Linked DNA regions of Homo sapiens: all the other regions are linked to region 1. Evidence: promoter capture Hi-C in 16 types of primary human blood cells and fetal thymus (Javierre and others, 2016). All regions are on one chromosome and are shown on one strand. The core of a region is centred on a gene start or on the middle of the fragment in contact, and the rest is flanking DNA. Distances in the headings are between cores, read along the strand shown. Region 1 holds the start of UBTD2 (ubiquitin domain containing 2). Region 2 overlaps FBXW11 (F-box and WD repeat domain containing 11). Region 3 overlaps FBXW11 (F-box and WD repeat domain containing 11).

Region 1 (4,935 bases), core at 1,520-4,019:
ACCATGTTAGCCAGGATGGTCTCGATCTCCTGACCTTGTGATCCGCCTGCCTCAGCCTCCCAAAATGCTGGGATTACAGGCATGAGGCACCACGCCCAGCCTAATTTTTGTATTTTTAATAGAGATGGGATTTCACCATATTGGCCAGGCTGGCCTCCAACTCCTGACCTCGTGATCCGCCCGCCTCGGCCTCCCAGAGTGCTAGGATTACAGGCATGAACCACCGTGCCCGGCCAAACTTTCTTTTTTCTTTTTTTGAGACAGGGTCTCGCTCTGTCACCCACACTGGAGTGCAGTGGCGCGATCACAGCTTACTGTAGCCTCCACCTCTCTGGATTCAGGTAATTCTCCCACCTCAGCCCCCTGAGTAGCTGGGACTACAGGCGCTCACCACCACGCCCCGCTAATTTTTAAAATTTTTTCGTAGAGACAGGGTCTCCCTATGTTGCTCAGGCTGGTCTGAAACAGCTGGGCTCAAGTGAGCTTCCCACCTCAGCCTCCCAAGGTGCTGGGATCACAGGCGTGAGCCACCATGTCTGGCAGAAACTTCAGACCATATAGCTAGTACACGATGAAAGCCAGATTCCAATCCAGGAAGTTAATCGCCAAGCTGGGGCCCTGACTGCGACACTACTCTGCCTCCTGGGAAATGTGTCTCTAAGATAAAGGCAGGGTGGAGAACATCTATTGCTGAGAATCTCTCCCCGAGATTGCTCTCTCTTCCTAGTGCCAACTCCTCAGTGCTCATCGGAGAGCCCTCATCATTTGGGTGCCTACCATCTGTTTAATAGACATCGTGGAAGTCTTGGTTTCTGCAATTTCTAGAGTGAAATTCAGGACAAAGCAATCTCTTTGCAAATATTCGGCATGCAGCTTCTCTTCTTCAGGGAAGTGATGAAGTGATGTGTCTGCCAACGTGTATAGTTAGTTGAAAATGATCAGACAGAAGGCTTTGTGACACAGCCCCTGATGTCAGAGCAACCTCTGAAAACTCATAATAACATCGATGGCATAAGCTCTTTTTGGAATGTTCAGGACCACAACTGAGGACAATACTAATTCTTCAGGATGAGTTTAATATAGCAGATTTCTATATCTCACGACATTTCTGTGTTTTAACCTAAGTGTAGGTTTTGCTTGTCTACTGTCTTTTTATCAAATGAATACAGAGATCTAAATCTTTGTATAATAGCTTGATCTATTTCTGTGAGCTAGATTTCCAGATGTGGAATAATCCCGAGTCAAAGGATATGAACATTTTTAAGGCTCTTGATCTGCATTGCCAAATTGCTTTGCAAAAAAGATTGAACCAATTTACACTCCCACCAGCAATGTATGAGAATATATTTAAATGCAAATCCCAAGCTGCAGAGCATCTCTTTCTTAGGTATTTCAACTTAAAAAATTTTTTTTCGTGCTAAGCAAAAGCTGACCCAGGATGTTAAAAAAAGAAAGTCTGATATAAAAATGGAGCAGATAGTTAAAACAGCTTCTTAGGCAGAAATAAGCTTTAGAAAGTCCCAAGCAGGATGATAACAATTTTAAGGCATCATAGCACGAAGCACAATTCTAAAGGGACCATTAACAATTTGGCTGAGATTGGAAAAGTAACCGCCAAGAATGTTGGGCGTGGTCAATGTCCCAAATTCTAGATTCGAAAAGGCAGGGTGTTTCACTCATTTACACTTCACTTTGGCCTAAGGACGATTTAAGATACCCAAAGGCAGGATCTTGATAAGTAGTATTGTTTGAATCATTAATCCCGTGAAAATGAAAGAAACCCACGCCCCCTGAACTAAGGTCAGCGTTTATCTCTTCTTTCCAGGCGTTCCATCAGGACGCCTCGCCTCTAATCTCAGTTTGGTTTGCCACAACCACTGCCTCCACCCCTAATAATGGGGCCCCATGATTTTAGGGAAGACGGGGGTGGGCAGGCAAGAGGAAGCCCAGATTCGGGGTACCAACCCACGGAGCGCCATACAAATTCAAAGGGCGCTGGGACCTCAACGTTCGGCCAGGACACTCTCCCCCGAGCCCCCGTTATTTGGGAAACCGCCCCGTCCCCGCCTGCGAGTCTTCCACGACTACTTCTCGGTTCCCCCGTGCGACCCGCTTCCACCAGCAAGAAGGAGCCGACGGCCGAGGAGCCAGGAACTCGATTTCGCCCCTTCCCACTCCTCTTTTCTCACTTTTGTTCGGCTTTTTCCTGCTTTCCCTCCCTTCTTCCCTCTCCTTTCTTCTTCCCGTCCTCCCTCTCTCCTCCTCCCCTCGCCTCCAGTCCTCCCCCCGCCTGCAGTCCTCCCCCCACCTAGCCCCCTGCGTCCCCTCCCCCGCCTCACCCTCGCCCCGCTCCGCTCGCAGCCCCGCCCGCAGCCAATCAGAGCGCGGCCTCCGGTGGCCCCGCCCTTCTCCGGCGATTCCGGGCGGGCCGGGCCGAGCCCAGGCCGTGGGTGCGGAGGGCGGCGCCGCGGGCCGGGGGCCGATGGGTCCTGGCGGACGCGAGGCGCCGGCGCGGGGCTCGCCTGGACTCGGGTGTGCGGGGCTGTGAGGGGGCGAGGCGGGCGCTGCGGCCCGCCCGGGATGGGCCAGCCCTGGCCTGGCGGGGCTGAGCCGAAGGCGAGGGCGGCGCGCGGGCCAGGCCTGCCGGGCGGGCGGCCCGGGGGTTGAGGTAGAAGTGGGCGCGGAGGAAGGGGCCGAGCCAAGGCGGTGGGTGGAGCGGCGAGGGGGGCGGAGGCTGGGCCGCGGCGGGCGAGCGGAGCGGCGCGCCTGTCCGGAGCTCGGCGGTGGCGCCGGAGGAGGCTGCAGCGGCGGCGGCGGCGGGCCCGGACGAGCGTCCGGAGGTGGCGGACGAGGCGCCGGGGGCCCCCATGGGCGGGTGTGTGGGCGCCCAGCACGACTCCTCGGGCAGCCTCAACGAGAACTCGGAGGGCACCGGAGGTAGGTGAGCGCCAGGGGGCAGCCTCGGCCCCCCATTGTTCCCGGCCAGGCCCGGCCACCTGTCCCGACCCCCGCGGGCCGCGCCGGGCCCCCGCGCCCCTTTGTCATCCCCTCTTCCACGTCATTCCCCGCGCTCCGCTTCCGGCTGTCCTGCCAGCCGCGGGGGTCGCCCCTTCCCGCCCCAGCCCTGAAGAAAAGTCCTCTGAGCGCCGGGGACGTAGCCCTTGGCCTCGCCGACCGCCCCGCTCGGCTCGGGGAAGTCGGACCCGAAGCTGCCCTTCTGGCCACCTCACTCCCTCTCCAGGCCGTTTAATTATTGAGGATCAGGATGGCGGCGCCGGGGTTGCAGAAAAGCGAATTGATGGCGGGGGGAGGGAGCTTGATGCGTTCCCTCCGACGGGCCCCGCCACATCTTTCCGCACCCTTCCTTGTTCTGTGGAGTTGGCTGGTCTCAGCTTTCCTGAGTTTCAGATGACAGCTGCCCCGGTTGGTTCCAGATTGGCCATTTAAACCTGCGAGTTTCTGGAGCTCGGCTGGAGGAGTCTCCAGTGGCCGCAGGCATTGTATTAAGGAGGGGTGGGGAAACGGTCTTCCCGGGTAAAACGTGGCTCCTAGCTAGAGCTTGGGGGTGTTAGGCCGGTGTGCTGTCGGGGTGGGCTAATCACATTCCCATCTGTCTTACGTAGAAGGAAAATATGTAGGATAAAAGTACAAGTGCAGTTGGACCCTGACTTACCCCACCCAGTAAGATCAGTACTTTAAAAGTTTTCTAACACGGGAACGCACTCCTACTTTATAGTAAAAGCGTGCTGAGGATAGGTATTTTAATTCAATCAGTAGTAGTTGTAGTATGGCAGTATAATAATAAAATTAGTTCTATCTTTATTTAAGTGACCTTTGGTTACGTCCATTCTGTAGAATATTTTAGTGATAAACAGCCTTTAGGCAAAGATGACAGCGTTGGTTTGATTTGTGACCTAATGTTAGCTGCCTTAAAATGTGCATGTCTGTAAATTTTTAAATTGTTTGGGTATGGGAGGGTTTACAACTTTTTCGTAGCATACTAACATTTAGACCAGTTGCTTGCCCTGTCACTTAAGCTCTCTTCACAAACCATGTACACCTAAGTTTTTTGGCTAATGGATTTCCTGAATTCCATGATGGTTAGCCATGCCACTTTATTAAAATCTGTGGGTATCCTGTATGACTAAATCCTGGGTAAATAACTTGAGAACTCAGTGGAAGTTGTCTTGAAAAAGTCCATGAAAATGCTACTTTATAGTGTATTTTATGTCGTAGCATTATTACTGGCATATTGAGATCCTCAGTGACAACAAAGCAGGAAGATAAAAAGGGCACGATTTAAAACAGCCTTGGGTTAAGGTGAAATTGAAGGATCAAAATGAATCTTCCTCTAATTGTGTTGATCATTAATGATTCTGAAATATATTAGTATTTGTTATCGCTAGTGTTTAGTTTTAATTAAATTTTTTTCACACTCATTTTAATATTGTCATAAGCATTTTGCTCTTCTCCGTAATGTATGTGGATTAATTTATTTAAGCCTTTTGGTAGTGTGACTTATGACCAGACAGGCATTATTAATATGGGCTTTAAAAAGCGTGAAATCTTAGCTTTGGGTAATTTATTACCGGTGGTATCCAGTTAGATAGCTATAGTATCAGTTTCTTTGAGGACTGAGTTCTCTGGACCGTAAGCTCTGCTGTACATGAAGTTTAGAAAAAGGAACATTAACCACCAAACGTCTTTATTTTCTTTTGGAGAGAGGACATGGGCCCTGATGTAACTGGGGTCAGGGAAGAGGCTCTTGTACTAAAAGGATTATTTCTGGAATTTGATTATGGACGCTTTTATTCTCCATTATTGTCATGATAATTAAGAGTTAATTGTGGTTTAGTGAAATTAACTCAGGTGTGTTGCAGGTTAACATATAAAAAAAATTATTGCTTAATAAGTAGATTGTTGGGAAGGGAAAGA
Region 2 (4,514 bases), core at 610-3,109, 330 kb after region 1:
CAGGGTCCACCCAGTTTTCCAGGCCGAGGCCGGCAGAGAATTCCACAGATAAAAGTAAAACTTTTTGGGGGTGGATGGGAAAGGGTTGCTCAGGATAGAACTGTTAGCAGGAGTGCAGCTGGTGACCCTCTCTTGTTGGGGTGGCTTCTAAGAGAGCCAAGGAAGAAAACATTGTAGCTTTATTTCTGAAGCTCTGAGCAAGCATGTGTTTAATTAAATATGGTTTCAGTAGCAATATTCAGTTTTCATCACTGCATATTCCAGACAGTTTGATATATCTTTGAAAAGCCATATTAAATTCCTGGCATCTGGTTGAGACTGTCCTGTTTGAGGAAAACTGCAAAATTAGGCACTGAGTTAGAGGGATATTATTGATGGCATGGGTGACTTTGCTGTTCTCAAGTTTATCTTTCTATTCATGTTTACAATTTTTAAATGGAGCTGGGGAGCCAGGAAGGAGGAAAATGTTCTTCATATTGGAGTCAGGCATTTTATTTACTTATTGGCAAACATTCAGAGTAGCACTGGTGTGGTTATTGATTCAAATTGCTTTCTTTGGGGAACTGTACTGGAACCTCACTAACACAGTTAACTGGAGAGCGAGTTCAATATAAGGCCCAGTTGTCTTTAGATTCTGTATATAAAGGTGGGTTACAAGTCTCACCTTACAAGAACAGGATGCTTCAGTGAGGCTCAGTGTAATGAATATATGTTTACTTTTGGAAAAGCAGCTTCTGTGCATGCGATGTAACTTTTAACAAAAATGTTCTTGGAATGGCAGCCATTATTGCATGTGCTCTCCTTGATGCTGTATAATGGATATTTGCGTTATTATAATAGGTGTATAATAGGTGTATTATAATAGGTGTATTTTTGTCTCTATTTTTCTGGATTAAAAGGAATGTTACAGTTGCTTTTTAGTGGGCTGACCGAGTTTTTTCCAGAACTGGAAATTTAAGAGGGGGAAAAATTGTAGTTGTTAGTGAGGTCTTGAAGTGCGGATTCTTTTTATTGCATTCAGTTAAAAGTAATTGGCCAATGGAAGGCATCATTCAATATATTTTAGTAACAGTATTGTGAGTTCTCTGGAGGTGGGGTGAGTGGGAGGAGGTACACGGGTTCCTACCTTGTTGAAAATGGAAATCCAAATTTGTTAAAAGTTCCTTGACTCATCTTTCTTAGTGAAATTCACTTAAGAAGGAAAAAAAGATTTTTTTTTTTTTGCCTTGATTGGGTCTTATTTCAGTGAGTGGAGCAATATTGTCTTTAGAGACGTGTAGAGTATTCTGTTTACTTAGGTTTAATTTTTGCTAGTATATAATTGAGGGTATGCAGCATAGTAAAATGAACTAAGTACTCAGCTCATTGGCATTAGCAAATCATTACTCTGTTTTGTCCCACATGTGAATGGAAAGTAAACATGTATTAATATTAATGAGCCTGGAAGACTTCCTTCCTCTGTACTCATTTAAGTATTATTTTAATGCCAACATTTCTCCCCTTTACCTCCAGTCTCCAAACAGTGCTAAAATTTCGTGCCTTAATTTGGGTTTGGGCTCTCAAAGAAGGCCTGTTGCTTATATGCTGCATCTTTGGTTTATTGCAAAGATGACTCTTCCTTTGCACACCTTTTAGCAACCTCATATTAGAGCAGGCCTGAGAAGGGAAGGAATAGTTAGGCTACCTGGAGAGAACAGAGCCTGGTTCTTTCCTGGTCTCTGAAGTTCCATGAAAGAGTCCCCCTTAAAATTGTCAGAGTGGACCCACTGATAATTGCAACTTGAGCCCATTGACCTGTCTATATGGCTGAATTTTAGTTTACCTTTCGAAAAAGCCGGAGGGAAGATAGTAGTTGCCCTTAGGCATAATTTACCCATTCCGGAAGTTTCTACCATCGTCTAGAAGGGAAAACAGGTATCAGAGACTTAAAAATCACTCATTACCAACTGTTACATGGTGCTTCACATATATTAGCTTTATGACAACCCTGTGAAGTAGGTGTTCTTATCTCCAATTTTCTGATATGGAAACTGAGTCTGACGTGACTATTTGGCCCAAGATAATGTTTACATAACTGTAAAGTTACTGGCATATGAATCACACACTTGCCTGATTCCCAAACTGGTTTTCTTTCCTCTACTCTGGAATGCTGCTTTTGTAGTTTTCCATGTTGGTTTTATTTGTAGAAACCTCACTATTGACACCTGGTATATGGTTTGTTTAGTTATTAATATTATTTGAAAATAAGAAAAGAAAAACCTGCCAAATTCTGTAGAAAAAAAAAGTTGCCATTCTTTTTGCCAAAATGAGCCCTCCTGAATCTTACAGCTAGTGAGGTTCCTGAGTGGACTTTCTGCAAACTTAATTCCATAAATATTTACTGAGCAATTGGTATGTGCCAGGGCCTCTATTGGTTATCTCTCAACCAAGCTGAACTGAGTCAGTGTTTCATTTGCCTCAGATGTCCTGATTCAACCAGTTGATTGTTATAGCAAATAATCAGGAATTCAGACCATGTGGATTATTGATTTGCCCAGATTCCTGTGGCATGAGAATCATACCAATGTTAATAATAGTATGTATCATTTATTTTCCACGTTCTTTCTATGTGTTGGACTCTAGGAATTGGATTATCTCATTTGATCTTTTATGGAAAAGTTATCTACCTTGCCATTTTTGTATATGAAATTATAGAGGTGAATTGACCTGCCTAAGGTTACACATTTATTTAAGTGGCAGAACTGGGTTAGGAACATAATCTGGATGACTGCAAAGCCAGTGCTCTAGTCACCAGTCTGTAGTGACAACTGCCATTTTAACTTGCAACTGCCATTTTTAGGTTGAAACAAATTCCCCTTAATTTTTGGAGTTAAAAATTTAAAGCCAACACAGCAGCATGATGTAATAGACTGGCAAGTTGTCTTGGGAATGTCATTTGCAGCCTCAGCTGGGGGAGAGTGTTAGTGATAAGCCTTTTGCTGGGGTAGGACTGATTGCTTGGAATGACAGTGAGGATCACGTGAATTGAGTTTGAGTGCCTCCTTCCAAGCTCTAGTGCATATAGTGCTGGGCAGTAAGTAGCACAACTTCTTGACAGCTGCCTTTCTTGTTTCTTTTTTTACTTTTAATAGGTGTAGTGAGCCACAGTGGTCTGAGAATGCCACAGAACTTATCATAGCTTTTGATATAAGAGAATATTTTTTAGAGGAGGGAGATAGCTTGGTAGAAAGAACCCTGGCTTTGGTGCAGACAAACCTCTATTCTAGTCCTGTTCCTACTACTTAATGACTTTGTGATACTGGGCAAGTTACTTTATTTTCCCGAACCCCTGTTTCCTCATCTTTAAAAATCATAAAGGGTTTTTATGAGGTAGAGAAAGATAATTGCCACCTCTTACTGATTCTTACTCTTGGGGGGTATGAAATCCATTTTTTAAATTTACTTGCTCCTGGTTCTCCATGTAAGAAGGAATTTCAGTCTTAGATTCCAGGGCTAGGTAAGGATTAGCTAAAAGACCATGCATATGATAAGGCTGTTTTTGTTCAGGGTCGGTCTGTCTAAGGTCAGACATGGCTGTTTGAATTCATTGCCTCTTGTCTGTTTTCTAATAAGCATTAGGGATTTGTCATTTCTTGTTGATTATCTTAATTATCCTATAGCACTCTGGGTCTGATAATGTGAACGTTTTGGGTTGCTCAGTGGTAGAATCTGTAGTATTTTATAGACACTAAAACCTACATTTTTGGCTGAGCATGGTCGCTTACCCCTATAATTCCAGTGCTTTGTGAGGCCCAGGTGGGAGGATTGCTTGAGGGCAGGAGTTTGAGACCAGCCTTCGCAACATAGCAAGGCCCTACAAACATTTTATTTTTGTATTTTGTCTCTACAAAACAAAATAAAAAATTAGGTGGACATGGTGGCATGTGCCTGTAGTCCTAGCTACTCTGGGAGCTGAGGTTGGGGAATCCCTTGAGCCCAGGAGTTGGAGGTTACAGTGAGCTATGATCACACCACTGCACTCCAGCCTGGGTGACAGAGCAAGAACCTTGTCTCTAAAACAGGGGTGTCCAATCTTTTGTCTTCCCTGGACCACATTGGAAGAAGAATTGTCTTGGACTACACATAAAATTACACTAACACTAACGATAGCTGATGAGCTAAAAAAAAAAATTGCGAAAGAAAAAAAATCTCATAATATTTTAAGAAAGTTTACGAATTTGTGTTGGGCCTCATTCAAAGCCGTCCTGGGGGCCTGCAGGCCACGGGTTTGCTCTAAAAAATATATAAATAGGCTGGGCGCGGTGGCTCACGCCAGTAATCCCAGCAATTTGGGAGGCCGAGGTGGGCGGATCACTTGAGGTCAGGTCAAGACCAGCCTGGCCAACATGGTGAAACCCTGTCTCTACTAAAAATACAAAAAGTAGCTGGGCATGATGATGGGCGCCTGTAATCCTAGCTACTTGGGAGGCTGAGGCAGGAGAATTGCTTGAACCCAGGAGGTGGCGGCTGCAGTG
Region 3 (4,534 bases), core at 1,981-4,480, 400 kb after region 1:
AGATTAGAGTGCAATGGCACGATCTCAGCTCACTGCAACCTCCGCCTCCCGGGTTTGAGCGATTATCCTGCCTCAGCCTCCCGAGTAGCTGGGATTATAGGCATGAGCCACCATGCCCAGCTACTTTTTTGTATTTTTATTAGAGACAGGGTTTCTCCATGTTGGTCAGGCTGGTCTCAAACTCCCGACTTTAGGTGATCCACCTGCCCCGGCCTCCCAAAGTGCCCCGATTACAGGCGTAAACCACCATGCCTGGCCGTCTTTTCATTTTCTCATTTTCTTAATGATCTCTTTAATGGAGCAAAAGATTTTAATTTTTTTTTTTTTTTTTTTTTGAGATGGAGTCTCACTCTGTCACCCAGGCTGGAGTGCAGTGGCATGATCTCGGCTCACTGCAACCTCCACCTCCTGGGTTCAAGCAATACTTGTGCCTTAGCCTCCCAAATAGCTGGGACTACAGGCATGAGCCACCATGCCCAGCTAATTTTTGTATTTTTAGTGGAGACGGGGTTTCACCATGTTGACCCGGCTGGTCTTGAACTCCTGGCCTCAGGTGATCTGCCTACCTTGGCCTCCCAAAGTGCTGAGATTACAGGCGTGAGCCACTGTACTTGACAGAAGATTTTAATTTTGATGAAGTCCAACTTACCAGTTTTTTCTTTTATGGATCATGCTTTCGATATTATATCCAAGAAGCCTTTCTCTGAGCTTCATGAATGTGTAAATTTACGTCTTTCATTCATTACATTTCAGAAGTCTTCAGCCATTATTTTTTCAAATATTTTTTTCTGTACCAATTTCTCCTTTCCTTCTGAGACTCTAATCACATAAATACTATATCTTTTGATATTGTTCCACATTGTTTTCAATCTTTGTTCCTCCCTTTTCTGGATAATTTCTATTGGCCTATCTTCAAGTTGACTGAATTTTTCATCTCTTCATCTCTATTCTCCTGTTACCCTCCGCCCCATCAAGTGAGTTTTTAATTTCAGGTATGATATTTTACAGTTTCTATTTCTCTGCTGAGAATTCTCTCTTTTTTATTTACCTCAAGCACGTTTATCTTTATCCTGTGGAGTATAGAGTAGGTGCTTAACATCTTTAACCATGTCAGCATCTGGGTAACCTCCAGCTTGACATCTGTTGATTGTCCAGTCCCCTGAGATTGTTCATCTTTCTTGATTTTTGTATGCCAGGTAATTTAAACTAGTATTTTGGGCATTGTGGATATTATGTTGTAAAGACTGTGGGTCCTGTTATAATCCTCTGGACAATGTTTTTGGGTAAGTGTGTTTTTAAGCAGTTAGTCAACTTAGTTGGGTTCAGAACACAAGTTCTGTCTTGACATCATCAGAGGGGTTGCGGGGATGGCTCTAATCTCTTTTCCACTGTTCAAAGCCTTTGCAATATGCCACTTTGCGTCTGTCATGGGCTTTCACTACTTAGAGGTTAATCTGAGGCTTCAGCAGTGCTTTAAATATCAGCTCATTGAGACAGCCTTTGCTGTGCTGGTTCAGTCTGTTCTGCGCATATACAGCTCAAGGGTAAGCCCAAGTCATGTGTTGTTTGGGTTCTTTTATTTCCAGTTCTTTCCTCTTGGATTTCCCTAAGTCTCTTCAGCCCATAAGGACACTTTTTTCCTTTTCCTCTGGCCAGAAAAATTGGGTCACTCTTGGAATTTTTTTATCTTTTCCATTGTTCTGCAGTGTGTCGTCATGACTGGAGCCATGAGCCCTGTGAGAGAAGAGAGAAAAGAAACCCCCAGGGATCTCTTTTTTTCCAGCCCCTCTGCCTAGAGGGATTTCTTTCAGAATTTTAGCTGCATGTTTTGCTATTTCACTGTATAGCTTCCTGGTCAAGGGCCTGCCTTTGAGCAAAAGCCACAGAAGGAAGAAAAGAGAAAAAGCCGGGTGTGGTGGCTCATGCCTGTAATCCCAGCACTTTGGGAGGCTGAGGCGGGTGGATCACTTGAGGCCAGGAGTTCAAGACCAGCCTGGCCAACATGGTGAAACCCTGTCACTACTAAAAATACAAAAAATTAGCTGGGCGTGGTGGTGGGCACCTGTAATCCCAGATACTCGGGAGGCTGAGGCATGAGAATTGCTTGAACCCAGGAGGCAGAGGTTGCAGTGAGCCAGGATCACACCACTGCAATTCAGAGCAAGACTCTGTCTCAATAAAAAATAAAAAAAAAAAGAAAGAAAACAGAAAACAACAAAGAAAAATAATGGCAAATTCACCCCCATGCAGATTGTTTCTTCACATTTTGACCCCTTGCCACATCTACCTGTTGTCCCCTCTTTCCCCTTACTTTTCAGAGTTCTTAACTAGTTTTTATCAGGAGTGTTTAGTTATAATCAACTGGAGAGATAGATTGTAGTGGGCTTTCTCCATCTTGGCCCTGTTTTCTGTTATTGTTCTATTTTGGGTGAAATAAAGCTTTTCTGCTTTTTTTTTTAATTTTTATTTTTTGTTTGTTTTTTAAAAAGTGAAATAGTGGAATTTTAGTAATTCAGCTACCTAGGTCAAACGCACTCTGAATTATAGAATATAAGAAACTGTTCTGTTGGTTTCCTATATGTATGGCAGTGTTTGCCAAAAGATATTCTGTGGATGTGAATCTAGAGGATGTTGGCAGGCATTCTAGGCAGAGAATAATAATGCCCTCCAAGGAAGTTTAGATAACACTGCATGCTGTGTCTCCAGCTTAGAAATTCACAGGATACAGTAGCATATAAAGGCTCTGAGAATGCCTACAATAGAGACAGACACCCAGTGTTTCCCAAGTTCCAAAACTTATTTGACCACGGAACTCTATTTTTAATTTTTTTTTTCTTACTTTTTGAGACAGAGTCTCGCTCTGTCACCCTGGCTGGAGTGCAGTGGCATGATTTCGGCTCACTGCAACCTCCACCTCCTGGGTTCAAGTGAGCGATTCTCCTCCCTCAGCCTCCTGAGTAGCTGGGACTACAGGTGCCTGCCACCAGGCCTGGCTAATTTTTTGTGTTTTTAGTAGAGATGAGGTTTCGCTATGCTGGCCAGGCTGGTCTCAAACTCTTGACCTCAAATGATCCTCCTGCCTCGGCCTACCAAAGTGCTGAGATTACAGGTGTAAGCCACTGCTCCTGGCCCACCGAACTCTATTTTTATATATACTTGATAGCCCTAACCTGTGGCTACCAGTATACTCTAGAAAGTGTGACATATGCTACTATTTAATACTGGTGGTTTTTCTTTTTTTCTATCAATATATCGTTTTATTTTATTATTTATTTATTTATTTATTTTTTATTATACTTTAAGTTTTAGGGTACATGTGCACAACGTGCAGGTTTGTTACATATGTATACATGTGCCATGTTGGTGTGCTGCACCCATTAACTCTTCGTTTAACATTAGGTATATCTCCTAATGCTATCCCTCCCCCCTCCCCCAACCCCACAACAGGCCCCAGTGTGTGATGTTCCCCTTCCTGTGTCCAGGTGTTCTCATTGTTCAATTCCCACCTATGAGTGAGAACATGCGGTGTTTGGTTTTTTGTCCTTGCGATAGTTTGCTGAGAATGATGGTTTCCAGCTTCATCCATGTCCCTGCAAAGGACATGAACTCATCATTTTTTATGGCTGCATAGTATTCCATTTTCTTAATCCAGTCTATCATTGTTGGACATTTGGGTTGGTTCCAAGTCTTTGCTATTGTGAATAGTGCTGCAATAATACTGGTAGTTTTTCTTTAAGGAATAGTTAAGAATGGTTTATAACAACTTTGTCAAAGCATAGTCTGGCTGTGGGCTTGGAATTCATTTACACTAGATGTGTTTTCTGAAGAATTCTCTTAATTGTGGCACATCCATTTGACTTAATAAGACATAGAATAGTAGAGCAGAAGTGCGCTTTGAAGAGATTATCTAGACCAGTGGTTGGAAACCTTTTTTTTGCTCTATTCTGCACCAATCCTTGATCACTAATCACTTTAAAAAATAACTCAGGTTCCATTAGGTCAGAAGTTAAAAGCAAGCTTTGCTATTGTAGATATTATATTTCAGTGTCTACCTCATTTATAAAATCTTGTTCACTTGCAGTAAACTGTAGAGTCACTACAAATTATGATAGTATTGTACATGTCAAGAAATAGGTGCACAGAGTCTATTTTAAATAGTTCAATCTTTGAAAACATTCTCATCTCCCATTAAATATCAACAATATTGTTAACTTGGGAACACTGGAAAGATTAAAAGAAGGGAGTGGGTTTGGTACGTAAGAAGTTGCTACTTGTCCTGACAACAAGTAAAAATCTGAACAAACTGAAAAATCAACCATTCTACTTAGATTCATAAGAGAAGTGAGGTCACAGGAGAAGCTGCTGCCCCACAAATTGGAGAGACAGGCAAATACAGAGAATCATAACTCACTGGAGCAGAAACATCCGGGAGAACCAGTGCCTGGGTAGGGTAACCTGAACCGTAATTGAAAAATTGCTGGAGGCTCAGTGTGGGACAAGTCTGAGAAATATAAACTGAGGAGGACCCAGTCAT

What was found. Contacts are between HindIII fragments. The CHiCAGO score rates a contact against its expected background, and 5 or more counts as called.
Region 2: a contact is called between a fragment that was not itself captured here and the fragment with the promoter of UBTD2 in region 1, in 1 of 17 cell types (total CD8 T cells). The highest score is 5.8, in total CD8 T cells.
Region 3: a contact is called between a fragment that was not itself captured here and the fragment with the promoter of UBTD2 in region 1, in 2 of 17 cell types (non-activated CD4 T cells and total CD8 T cells). The highest score is 6.4, in non-activated CD4 T cells.

The regions. Positions count from the first base shown.
Region 1 is chr5:172,281,598-172,286,532 of GRCh38, reverse strand. It overlaps UBTD2 (ubiquitin domain containing 2), which reads left to right and starts at 2,769. Exons shown (of 3, transcript NM_152277.3): 1 at 2,769-2,937. The coding sequence starts at 2,868. LOC100288254 (a long non-coding RNA gene) reads right to left here and starts at 936. Exons shown (of 2, transcript NR_130933.1): 1 at 778-936. RefSeq lists enhancers at 1,492-2,091, 2,092-2,692 and a silencer at 2,267-3,176. The HindIII fragment of the contact is 4,236 bases long and covers 1,511-4,935 here.
Region 2 is chr5:171,952,526-171,957,039 of GRCh38, reverse strand. All of the region lies in intron 2 of FBXW11 (F-box and WD repeat domain containing 11), which reads left to right. Among named protein-coding and RNA genes, the nearest start is that of FBXW11, 52 kb to the left of the region's middle. The HindIII fragment of the contact is 6,782 bases long and covers 1-4,514 here.
Region 3 is chr5:171,885,329-171,889,862 of GRCh38, reverse strand. The region is part of intron 7 of FBXW11 (F-box and WD repeat domain containing 11); the gene reads left to right. Among named protein-coding and RNA genes, the nearest start is that of SMIM23, 100 kb to the right of the region's middle. The HindIII fragment of the contact is 1,578 bases long and covers 2,442-4,019 here.